Regions from separate parts of the Homo sapiens genome. Here regions 1, 3 and 4 are each linked to region 2. The links are contacts of gene promoters, found by promoter capture Hi-C in blood cells and fetal thymus (Javierre and others, 2016). All regions are on one chromosome and are shown on one strand. The core of a region is centred on a gene start or on the middle of the fragment in contact, and the rest is flanking DNA. Distances in the headings are between cores, read along the strand shown. Region 1 has its middle 17 kb from the start of BACH1-IT3. Region 2 holds the start of RWDD2B (RWD domain containing 2B). Region 3 has its middle 14 kb from the start of BACH1-IT2. Region 4 overlaps BACH1 (BTB domain and CNC homolog 1).

Region 1 (3,287 bases), core at 522-3,021, 460 kb after region 2:
TTTTTTGGGGGGGGTGGGGGAAGAGAGTAGAAACTTGTTTCTTTAAACTCCACCAAAAATTGTTTTCTAATAGGTTCATTCCTTTAATAACAAAATTTCATTTATGAGGGCACAGTAGCACCCAGAACAAATTTTGATTTTGCAAACCAATGACCTTTTTATGGTTCTTTAGAAATGGAAGTCAGCTGTTGTCCAGAAGGGTTGGTGGCATGGGGACTTAGAAAGCCATGAAGTTTGAGCGCCGCTTTCTAATGTCTGACCTGATGTTTGTGGCTGCACTTGCTGTATGTCCTCAGGCACAACAGCTATTAGCTTTGTTGTGAATTTTAGAGGGAGTCACTTGTTCAGGCAATGGATACTGCATATGTGGCACTCTTTGCAGGTCCAGCTGGGTGACATGCTGAGAACAACCAGGTGTGCTCCCCGAGCTCATAGCACATATGGTCAGGTGGATAAAACAACCTTGATTTCAAACAAAACACCCAAAGGAGTGCATGTGTAATCACACACTGAAGGAAGAGCTCCGAAGGAAAAAAAAAAAAAACATGTTGTAGAATCACAGCAGACAACCACAGACCTGCTCTAGCTGGGTGGTCAGGCCGGGTCTCCCTAAAAAGTTAGACTGAAGGTGAAATCTGAAAGATGGATTGACATTAAGCAGGGAAAGGCAGTGAGATGGGAAGGGGAGTGTTGGTGGAAAAGAATGGGCCCAGGCAGAGGACAGAGGTGGGAATGGTGTGTCTAAGGAATGCAGGTTGGAGCACAGACAGCTAGAGGAAGAGAGCGTGAAATGAGGCCGGGGAGAACAGGCTGACCCAGAGGGCTACGGCAGAGCTGGTGTATTAGTCAGGGTTCTCCAGAAGGACAGAACTAATGGGATAGAGGTATATACTAAAGGGTGTTTATTATGGAGAATTAGCTCTCAAGGTCACAAGGTGAAGTCCCATCATAGGCTGCCTGCAAGCTAAGGAGCAAAGAAGCCAGTAGTGGCTAAGTCTGAGTCACCAAACCTCAAAAGTAGGGAAGCCAACGTACAGTCTGTGGCCTAAAGCCCAAGAGCACTCAGCAAACAACTGATGTAAGTCCAAGAGTCCAAAAGCTGAGGAACCTAGAGGCTGATGTTTGAGGGTAGGAAGCATCCAGCATGGGAGAAGGACGGAGTCCAGAAGACTTAGCCGTTCTAGTCTTTCCACGTTCTTCTGCCTGCTTTTATTCTGGCCGTGCTGGCAGCTGATTAGATGGTGCCCACCCAGATTGAGGGTGAGTCTGTCTCTCTCAGTCCACTGACTCAAATGTTAATCTCCTCTGGGAACACACTCATAGACACACCCAGAACAATACTTTGCATCCTTCAATCCAATCAAGTTGACTCTCAATATTAACCATGACAGCGGAGGAGCTGTTGTTGATACAGGAGGGTGTAATGAGTTTATACATTGAAAATAGCCCTGTTGCTGTAGAAATAGCACATGGAAGTGAAGTGGTGCCCAGGATGCCACAGGAGCAAAAAGGTGGCCATGCAAATCCTGGCACAAGAGAGAGGAACTTGGATGAGAGGACAAGGGCCTGGAGACTAGTGGCCAGATTCAAGAGACAGGTGGGACCTAAAATGGACGGAACTTTGGGAGGAATTGGGTAGGAAGGGGTGGTTAAGGGAAGACAGCATCATGGGTCATTCTGGCTGGAGTAACAATGTTTGATGGTCTCTTCAGCAAGTGAGGGGACACAGACTGAAGACAGGGTCAAGGTTAGAACATGACTTGGCTGCTTAAACGCAAGGACAAAGGTTGGGATCTCCACAGATGGACACAATGGAAAGAGGGAGAAAGACAAAAGAGTTTGGAGTATTAGCAAGTCATACAAATAAAATGTTTCTAAAATGCTGCTTTACACATCATTAGGAGTTTAATTATGGTTATTTTCATTCTCTGATCTGCTTCTTCTGTTCTTTTTCTCTTCCTTCTTTCTTTTTCCTTCCTTTCTTTACAGAATTTTATCTCAGCTTGCTCAAGTTTAATTGCAGAAAGTCTCACATTTTTCTACCTTATGAATCTCTAAGATCTTTTCCAGAGTTTTTACAAAGGGTTTATACAAATTTTGGTAAAATTGAGTAACTTTTCCAAAAGACCAGATACCTGGACCAGCTGGTAATTTGTCATAATTTAAAATTATTTTTATTTTAATGCACCTTTCACTCTATGGTTTTGTATTTTAATGCATCTCTTAACTATACATGGTTGATTTATAGTGTGACTTTGGATAAGTTATGTGACCCTTCTTTGCTTTTGTTTCCTAATTTGAAGAATAGATTAGTAAAAAGATGATATAATAATCATCTTTTTAATGGGTTGTTTTGAGGACTAAATGAGTGAAAACTCATAAGGTGCATTATAAGCACTTAATAAATATTAGTGTTGTTGGTAGCTATTGTTATGGCATGGGCCAGAATGGTAGACTGGGAGACCCACAGACAGAGCTAGAACTTAAGCAATGGAGGTTAAAGCTATGCTTAAATTACCTATGTGATGAAAGCTGGTGTTTCCTGGAGTTTACGATGCAGTTTGCATTATGGACGGAAAGTTTTTCTGGGTAGTGAAAGGAGAGTAGCCAGTGGGTGTTCATGCTTGCATGGCGAGATGAAGAATACACTTGGGTTTACACCCCTTTGTGTCTTTTTGGATGGGCCTTCTCTGAGTGACATGAGGAATACTGATACAGCTCCATAATAGCAGTAATAAGACCTGATATGGAGTAGGGGGGAGCTCAGCAGTTGCCAGCCCTGAACACACTTTATCTCGTTGAACTCCATAAGAGCCCTGTTGGGTTGAGTCTATTTTTGTTTCCGTTTTAGCAATGTGAAAAACCGAGATTACATAACTTGCCAAAGTGGTGGAGCTGGAAATCCAGATATTCTAGCTTTAGAGATCAACCAATGTGAATAAACAACTTCCATTTTCCCAGTCACATTTCCACTCCTAAAGTTTTCCCTAATCTCCAAGTTTTTACACTATTAAGAAGAATGCAGTCATGCAGATTTTGTTTTCTTTACCTTGAAAGAGGAGAGTTTAACCAGCTAAGGTATGTGTTGGTTGCAACAATCCTTAAAGACACATAATCCTAAGTTTCCATATTTTTTTTTTTGAGATGGAGTCTCACTCTGTTGCCAGGCTGCAGTGCAGTGGCGCAATCTCAGCTCACTGCAATCTCCATCTCCTGGGTTCAAGAGACTCTCCTGCTCAGCCTCATGAGTAGCTGGGACTACAGGCATGCGCCAACACACCTGGCTA
Region 2 (3,000 bases), core at 39-2,538:
GTGAAAGGAAAAGTGGGGTGACCAGATATAGACACCGCAATAACTAGGGAGAGATGATGGTGGCTTTGATAGGATTATAGTGGTCAAGTTGGTGAGCTTCAGGTTCTGGATACATGCAGAGAACAGAGGCAACAGGATTTACAGATGAATTACATGAGACACGGAAGAATGACTCCGGGGCTTTAAGGTACTGAAAGTATGGATCTGCCATTTATTTAGACGTTGATGGTCATGGGGAGCTGAAGCTTGGTTTTAGACACAAGTAATGAAGTGCCTACTAAGACACCTGTTAAATAGAGAGGTCTAGCAGGCAGTTAGATGTATAGTTTTGAAGTCTACGAGAGACTCAGCTAGATATATAATCTTGGGAGTCAACACTTATTTGGAACTATATATTTGTTTAAAGTCTCCCAGGGAGTGAGTAAAGTTGGGAGAGGGTGCTATTGAATTGGAGGTATCGAAGATGAAATGGGATTAGCAAAGAAGAACGGGACGGAGGGACTCTTGAACGGACAACTACGGGAGTGATGTCACAGGTCATTTATCTGCCAAATTATTTTCGCTTAAGAGATTTCAGTCCTTCCAAAAAACCCTCAAGATAATTTTATGATTCAAGATTTCAGCGAATGCTGTAAGATAATAGACTGTGGCCGGGCGCGATTGCTCACGCCTGTAATCCCAGCACTTTGGGAGGCAGAGGAAGGGGGACTGCTTGAGCCCAGGAGTTCAAGATCAGCCTGGGTAACATAGTAAGAGCTCGCCTTTATTATTTTTTTAAAAAATAAAATATATTTAAGAGAACGCAGACTGAAACTTGAGATTTCTGAGTGGAATAATATCTTTTCCTTGCAGATTTTTTTTTGAAGAACAGAGCAGGGTACCCCGCGACCCAAGCCAAGACGCTCTCAGGAAGAAAGCCCAGCACGCAGCCGCCCTCGCACCCTGATTGCCCCCGGGGCGAGGTCCCCGGCTGGAGCAGGGCTGCAGAAGCCGGGAAGCAACGCCGAGGACCGAGCCGACCGATGGGCGCATGCAGTGAGGGGAACCGGGGCCGCCATGCCGGGCACGTTCCCAAAGGGTTGCACTGGGCGCTGCAGCGTGGGAAACCCCCGTGGCGGTCACCACTGGCGCTAGCTGAGGCGAGACTCACCTTGAGCCGTGGCCCCCTCACTGCTGTAACCCGGGTTCCATGGCTGCATGGACAGCTCAATTTTCATCAGAAGGGAGCCTCAAAATTCTAGCATACTGCGACCCAAAACTTACAAACCGCCTCAGCTGGCGACCTACCGGAAAAAAAAAAAAAAAGCATGCGGCGCATGCGCGTCCAAGGCCGCGGACCGGAAGCTGGGGCTCGCCTGTTGGGAGCCGCGTCCGCCGGTGTTGGTGTCTGCACTTGGAAGGACGTAGGGAATGCGTTGTCCCTGCTAGGTACTTTTCAGTCGCAGAGTTCTCTTCTTCTTCTTTCTTTCTTCCTTTTTTTTTTTTTTGAGACGGAGTCTCGCTGTGTCTCTCAAGCTGGAGTGCAGTGGCGCGATCTCGGCTCACTGCAGCCTCCGCCTCCTGGGTTCAAGCGATTCTCCTGCCTCAGCCTCCCGAGTAGCTGGGATTACAGGCGCCCACCACCATGCCCAGATAATTTTTGTATTTTTCAGTAGAAATGGGGTTTCACCATGTTGGCCAGGCTGGTCTCGAACTCCTGACCTCAGGTGATCCACCGGCCTCGGCCTCCCACAGTGCTGGGATTACAGGCCTGAGCCACCGTGCCCGGCCGGAGTTTTTCTACTTAATACCTCTCCATGCCAACCCCGTTGTCATTTCCCAGCGGCCGCCTCTATAACGGGCACTTTTCAGGGACAAAGAATTGGTCCGTTAATGTTCCTCAAATTCGAACGCGCCTAGGAATAGTTCGGGGATCCTGTTGAAGTGCAGATCAGGATTCCGTAGGTAGGGGTGGGGTTCCAAATTCTACATTTCTAGTATCTTCCCACACGATGGTGATCCTCCTTGTCCCTGAATCATGGAGGAGGGCAATTAGGGAGATGTGAGCCTGGATGCATGGTGGCCTTGGCTATCTTAGGTGTTCTTGCCCATTAACCAAGCTGGGAGGAACCGTGTGAATGCATATCTATCCCTGTTAATAAAAGGGTAGTTTGAAGGAGATGCTGACAGGAGAATAATTAGAAATGTTTTTCTTCCCAATCCAACTATATGCAATACACTTTATAATATTCATTTTAGAAATGTCATAGATAAGATTTGTAAACATTGACATTTAGCAATACTAAATATCACTGCTAGGTCTCCCCTCCACTTTTTTTTTTTAAACAAAAATACGACAGTATGTATTGTAGGTCTTCATAAACTACGTCTTCTGCATAGTGTTTCATGAGCGTTTTTCAATGTCATAATTTATTTTTTCCTCCAACATTTATTATGAAAAAATTCAAGTGTAAAGCGAAGTCGAGAGAATTTTACAGTGGAGCAGACCTCAAGAGAAGGGGAAGGATGGATTTCCCCTCTATTTAGCAGTGTCTGAAGACATTTTGGGTTGTCACAACTGGAAGGATGGTATTGGCATGGGGTAGGTAGAGCACAGGGATGTTCCTCAACTTCCTACAATGAACAGGACATCCCCCGACAACAACAAATTTGCTGGTCCAAAATGTTGATAGTGTTGAGGTTGAAAAACACTGACCTGGAGAGTACAGAATTTTACTCTACCAGCTTTGTCACATACCTCATCAATCTATCTGTTTTCATACATTTAAAAGTAAACTGCAGACAGTACGCTTCTAAGTACCTCTAATGCACATCATTGGAGTTCAAATTAAGGATTTTTTAAGGTAAAAATGAAATGCATACCTTAAATACACATCAGTTTTTAAATGCACACGCCTATGGAACTCAAGCCATATTAACATATAGAACGTTACCATCACCCTAGAAAGTTCTTTCATGCCCTTTCTTAGTTCCCAACCAGTTCTCCCCAAAGGTAACCAC
Region 3 (3,161 bases), core at 413-2,912, 340 kb after region 2:
GATTGGTTCCCCATCCTCTGGGAGAAAAGTGGCAGGGTTGAGGGCCACGCATGTACATATTTGAAGCACCAGTCCCTCAATGAGTAGCGCCTGGTATCTGAGTAGGTGGTTGTCTGATAGCCATAAACTTCCTTTGGCACCTAGTATGCCATTTACATCATGAGTAGTCCAGACAGTGAGATCCTTTCCTTGTATTATTTTGATAGCCTCTGACACTAAGATGGCCACCGCCACAACTACCCTTAAAGAGTGAGGCCAGCCTTTCGCTACTACATCAATTTCCTTACTTAGGTATGCCACTGGTTGTGGGGTTGCCCCATGAGTCTGAGTAAGGACTCCAAGAGCCATCCTTGCTCTCTCTGTGATGCATAAAGAAAAGTTTCATCCTGTGGGAAGGCTTAAGGCTGGAGCTTGAGTTTGTTCCTTCCAATGCCCAGACTTCAGGGTTGATTCCCTCCTCAAGTAGGGGACAACAAATGGGTAACTCGTTCCCCATATTCATGTAGATAATAACTCCAGCTTTGGCTACTCCTACTGGATCTAGTGGAGTCAGCGTGATCCGCTTCTCCCACTCACCTAGTCCCCACACGCCCTGAGAGCTAGTCCCTGTGGTCTGATGTCCACCCCTCACTTCTTCTGCCCTTTCCTTATACTTCCCTGCTGGAGTGACTGGAAGTGGGGATGCTCTTCCCTGGACACAGGGGAGAAGGAGGGCCCCTGGGGTTGTCACTTCCTCTGCCCTTTTGGGTGGGGCAGGAAGGGCACATTTGATGTTAGCAATTCAGCGTAAAAGTGAAAACTAATTTGGCCTCAAGATTTAAGAGTCATCCAAACAACAGTTACAGGGCTAATATCTTTAATCTTTACACATTTGACAATATCCAATAAAAAGAACACCAAACTACATCAAGACAAAGGAGCAACAGACATGGGCCTGCAGAGGACAAAAGAGAAAACAGGAGCACTCAATAACCAGGAACTCAGGGACTTTGGAGGCAACCTGTGTGGGTTAAACATGCTTTTGAAGATTTTTATCATTATTTCTCATTAGAAATATAAAAAGTGGGCTGGGCGCCGTGGCTCACGCCTGTAATCCCAGCACTTTGGGAGGCCGAGGCAAGTGGATCACGAGATCAGGAGTTCAAGACCAGCCTGGCCAACATGGTGAAACCCCATCTCTACTAAAAATCCAAAAATTAGTTGGGTGTGGTGGAGGGCGCCTGTAATCCCAGCTACTGGGGAGGCTGAGGCAGGAGGATTGCTTGACCTCAGGAGGCAGAGGTTGCAGTAAGCTGAGATCACACCACTGCATTCCAGCCTGGGTGACAGAGTGAGACTCTGTCTCAGAAAAAAAGAAAAGAAAAGAAAAGAAAAGAAAAGAAAGAAAGAAAGAAAGAAAGAAAGAAAGAAAGAAAGAAAGAAGAAAGAAAGAAATGTAAAAAGTGCTAAATAGAAAGAAGTAAAAAATATATCAAATTAGAAAATAAAAAATGAGGGGGAGTGAAACTGGCATTCTAACACAAGGGGGGTAGTATTTAAAATAGCTTTTATGCTTTGGGGAAGCAGTTTGATATTTTATTTAAAACATTTTAAACTAGCCATAACATCAGACACAGTAATTGTATGCCAAGGAATCCATCCTGAAGAACAATAATCTTAAATTTTAGGACTATTATTAATCCATAATAATAATAATAAAAATTTCTTCTTATATCAAGATGTCCATCATAGCATTTATCATAGTAAATAATTTTGAATAGACCTTTAGAAATGGAAAAAAGCAAAGCACTATATTGTATCTCTACTCAAACTAAGATTTGACACTGTACTCGGCTCTTTTTATAATTTTTCCCTTAATCCTCACAGTAAAATCAAATGTTTGACACAATGATTGTCTCTTTATGAGTTTTTAGCTAACAAAATGTTTATGGTAAACATGGAATAAAATGAAAAATACTCATGACAGATGCTAAACATGAAAGCAAGTGATTTATGTATCTAGTATGATTATAACCAGGTATATCGAAATCTCTCTGTGAATAAAAAAAATTGAAGTCCATCTGGGGTGAACAGTTGTTATTTATTAAAATTTGCTTTTGCGAGTACTCATGAATCTTGAGACAATAACCACCACCACGATTATAAAACTATCAAACACGATTTTAAGCAAAGAAAGAAATGGGGAAAACCGTGAAAGGAAAATAAATCTCAAGACTCCAGAATCACTAAGCCAAAGGGAAAAGTCAAGCTGGGAACTGCATCAGACAAACCTGCCTCCCATTTTATTCCTAAATAAAATAACTACAAAGAAAAACAATAAAAATAAAAAAGCTACATACCTCCCTCACAATTTGCCCGTAAGGAAATTCCTTGTGAGCCTCAAAGATCTTTACCCTAAAACAGTTCTGTTGAACTTCATCCTGGCCATATTAATTGATACCTTATCTTCACAGGCCCAGGACAGAGGACAGACAGAACTCTTGATCATTGCTCTGCTCACCTGTGACAAATGCATTTCTCATTGCTTCCTCTGACCTATTGTTTATGTAAAAATGCAGATTCACTGAGTCAGACTAAGGCATCAGTGACTATTCCTCTATTCATTCCACCTCACATGTATTCAGTGAAAGGCTGATCGAAGACCCCAAAGAATGAAACCTTTTGTCCCTTATCTACCTCTGACCTGGAATCCCTTACTTCGAGTTGTTCCACCTTTCTGGACCAAACCAATGTACCTCTTATGCATATTGATTGAGGTCTCATCAATGTATAAAATCAAGCTAAAATGTATAAAACCAAGCTGTGCCCTGACCACTTGGGTACATGTCATCATGTACCCAAGACTTCCTGACGCTGTCATAGGCACGTCCTTAGCCTTGGCAGATAAACTTTCTAAATTAATTGAGACCTGTCTCAAATACTTTGGGCTCACAAAACGTAGCTGTCCATCAGGCAGATATCTAAAAGCAAGAAGTGATATTTTACTCAGCTAAAAGCTGCTATTTTGTCGGCGGCCTCAGAGGCCTTCCACAATGAACTCCCTCCCCAACCCTCTGGCCTCATTCCCAGGCCCCTGTCCTCTCCTGGGAACTCCTGGGAATGTCATGTTTGCCCCATTGTCATCTTGTCAGTGAGGCTCCCCTGACTGCCCTCATTAAGAC
Region 4 (3,090 bases), core at 454-2,953, 320 kb after region 2:
ACTTCCTATAGGTAACCATTTTCATTAGTTTCTGGATTTTTTTTTCCCTGTGTTTCTTTTCTAAAAATGTGTTAACATTTTATGTCTACTCTTATTATCCATCCTGCTGCATGGAAGTATTTTATATACATTTTTCTGTACTTTTTAAACTTAAGAATTGATTTATAGGAAATATTTTTTCTTAGTTCAGAGAGGTTGTCATTCGTTTTCCAGCTCCATAGTACTCAGTAGTGACTGTAATACAGTTCAAACCAGTCTTCTGTGGGTGGACAGTTGGGATCCTGCAGTGAATAACTGTATACTGTTTCATGTTTAAGGAGCTGTGTCTCTAGGACACATTCCTAGAAGTGGGATTGTTGGATCAAGGGTAAATACATACATAATTTTATTAGATATTAACAGATTCCCCTCCTTAGGAATTGTCATATTTGGCCTTCCAGCAGCAGTATATGTGTGTGTGTCTGTCCACACCCTCAGTCAAGATTTGTTGTCAGCTTTTGGGTTTTTTCCAGTCTGATAGTGAGATACCATGATATCTCGTGGTAGCTTTTATTTTTATCTTATGAGTGAAAATGAGCATTTTTGCTTATATTTCTCAGTGCCATTTGCAGATTTCTCTGAACTGCCGTTCAGAGGTTTTACTTACTAAGGAACTATTAGTGACCATTTTCTAACAGTGAGTACTCTTTACCCTATCATAAAATTGTCACTTGTACTTTTGGTGCCAAATTCTTCTATATCTTTATTGGGTGAGTTATATTTATGATCTTTAAAAAAATTATATTTGAATAAATATTGTGCACTAGCTATTCAAAATAAGGATTTAGATGCAAAGGTTTTTTTTTTTTTTTTTTTTTGAGACAGAGTCTTGCTCTGTCACCCAGGCTGGAGTGCAGCGGCACAATCTCGGCTCACCGCAACCTCCGTCTCCCAGGCTCAAGTGATTCCCCTGCCTCAGCCTGCCCTTTTAGCTAGGTTTACAGGTGTGTGCCACCATGCCCAGCTAATTTTTTTGTATTTTTATTAGAGACAGGGTTTCACCATGTTGGCTAAGCTGGTCTCGAACTCCTGACCTCACATGACCCGCCCACCTCAGCCTCCCAAAGTGCTGGGATTACAGGCGTGAGCCACTGTGCCCAGCCTGTAAAGATTTTTTGTTGGTATAAAATCCAGAATGGTACCAGAATGCCAATTTTATTCCTTTTTAAGAAATAGCTCTAATTAAAGGTGCAGCACTTCAAACGTGATTTATACAGTTGTTTTTATAGGAAAATGGAAATATATTGTAGGGATAGGTAGCAGGACACTAATAGTGAGTCCCACTCATGACTGTAAGTAGTGACTTTGGGAGGTATCTTAAATACTGATGTCATTAAGTAATTAACTTGAATTACTTGTATTTTACTTTTAGTTATTAAGCTGACTGCTATTATAGTAAATATGTGTCTTAAACTTAGAGTGAAATGGAAACTGCTTAGAAGCTTAGCTGTGTAGGAGTTAAAGTGCAGGGGAACAGATGGGAACATTTAATTTATAGAAATAATTCTGGTGGAGTTCTAGGGCTGTGCCTATTTGTTTTAGTTGTTGTGAAGAAGCAAGCCATCTTGTATACTTAAAGAATGATGTCATCCCTAATTTAGTGGGGTGGGAGGAGTGAGAGTATTTAAAGATCATGTGGATATTAAGATACAGAAGTCATAAAATATTTGTAATCTTCATAGTATCTGTAGGTTAAGTAGTGGTTCTAATTTCTGGGAGGAAGCTCAAGTACTCCTTATTTTGTTGAACCATATTTAATTTAAAAGACCAACCAGCAGTTGAAAATTTTCTATTGCTGTTTAGAATAGATTCATCCCAACTTTGGTAGAGGAGTCCATGGCTGAATATTGCCATGAGTGAAGAAAGATTCTTTCTCACTTTCTTCTGGAAGCTTTGTTTTCATCCTCCTTTGGATTGGCTTCTGAGAGACCATAAAAAGAAATGGGTGTTGATTGCATTTAATGGTTCCTACTGTGAACAAGCAGTAGGTACCGTTCTTGCCCTTTCAGTATCTGCAGACTCATTTTATCAGAAGAGTGCAACTGATAAACTTTGCATAAGAGAAAATGTACTGGCCAAACATTGATTTTGCTTACATACACATACTTAACACGCACATTCTTGACCTACATCTATTTAAAAAAAAAAAAAAAAAGAACTTGTATATAAAAATCTGAACAGATTGGAGAATACTTTGCCATATAAAAATTTAGTATTTTGTATTTATTGTATATTTTCTCAAAATATTACAAGGCTTTAAAATATTTTAGAAATAACAATAATTGGATTCATACATAATTTTATAGTAATACTTTTGTATAAAACCATAACAATACTTTTGTATAAAGCAAAATTCGTTTTACCCTTTTAGTGACTTTTATGTCATAAAAGACTAAAGGATGGCACTTATAGATTAGCACTATGAACTAACTTGTCTCAAGGTTAACTGGCAGCCTCAACTCTCCAGAACCTGTCAATGAACAGAAAGCAAACAGAACAACACTGACTTGTTGAGAGTTGTGATAAATTTCATAAGAAAAACGTTTGACTTTCTAGCAAGTGTTTATTTACTCTTTTCTTATAAATACCTTGATTATTTGGTTTCCTGGCTCATAATAGATTAGAAGCAATAAGATGTTAGAACAAGAAGGATGAAATGGGATGATAATAGAAAAGACATGCTGTCAGCAGTGATAAGTGACATGGACAGGAAGGCAGGAACCAGAAAAACTTTTGAAAAATTCTGTGGTAGACTTTCTTATAGGGGTAATATCTTAAAATTATAATAATAACAAAAATGGTAATTAGCAAGCACAAAATTACCCCCCCGAATTCTTCACACTTTAGTAACTCACCCACCGGCTGTCTCTAGGCATCTTAAATTCAGTCCCATCCCTTCAGTGGGTTTGATGTTGCTTAAATCAAGAGAGGTGTTGTGTGGATTACATAGCTGAGATTGCATGTTGGAAAACATTTAGCACAATATCTGTCAGAGAATCTGCTCAACAAATGCTGGTCATTAGTTGAATCTTGCAATGCTTTGAGTCTCAG

Evidence for each region. Contacts are between HindIII fragments. The CHiCAGO score rates a contact against its expected background, and 5 or more counts as called.
Region 1: a contact is called between a fragment that was not itself captured here and the fragment with the promoter of RWDD2B in region 2, in 2 of 17 cell types (neutrophils and non-activated CD4 T cells). The highest score is 6.5, in neutrophils.
Region 3: a fragment that was not itself captured here is called in contact with the fragment with the promoter of RWDD2B in region 2 in 2 of 17 cell types (neutrophils and naive B cells); the score reaches 9.3 in neutrophils.
Region 4: a fragment that was not itself captured here is called in contact with the fragment with the promoter of RWDD2B in region 2 in 11 of 17 cell types (naive B cells, fetal thymus, activated CD4 T cells and 8 more); the score reaches 11.8 in naive B cells.

Annotation. Positions count from the first base shown.
Region 1 is chr21:29,477,139-29,480,425 of GRCh38, forward strand. No RefSeq gene overlaps it. Among named protein-coding and RNA genes, the nearest start is that of BACH1-IT3, 17 kb to the right of the region's middle. The HindIII fragment of the contact is 6,871 bases long and covers 1-3,287 here.
Region 2 is chr21:29,018,061-29,021,060 of GRCh38, forward strand. RWDD2B (RWD domain containing 2B) reads right to left here and starts at 1,289. Exons shown (of 5, transcript NM_016940.3): 1 at 1,151-1,289. The coding sequence starts at 1,217. It overlaps LOC124905005 (a long non-coding RNA gene), which reads left to right. Exons shown (of 2, transcript XR_007067836.1): 1 at 1-187; 2 at 853-3,000. RefSeq lists an enhancer at 1,130-1,379. The HindIII fragment of the contact is 4,408 bases long and covers 244-3,000 here.
Region 3 is chr21:29,357,395-29,360,555 of GRCh38, forward strand. It overlaps a transcript of BACH1 not described here. Among named protein-coding and RNA genes, the nearest start is that of BACH1-IT2, 14 kb to the right of the region's middle. The HindIII fragment of the contact is 8,040 bases long and covers 1-3,161 here.
Region 4 is chr21:29,338,794-29,341,883 of GRCh38, forward strand. The region is part of intron 4 of BACH1 (BTB domain and CNC homolog 1); the gene reads left to right. Among named protein-coding and RNA genes, the nearest start is that of BACH1-IT2, 32 kb to the right of the region's middle. The HindIII fragment of the contact is 449 bases long and covers 1,480-1,928 here.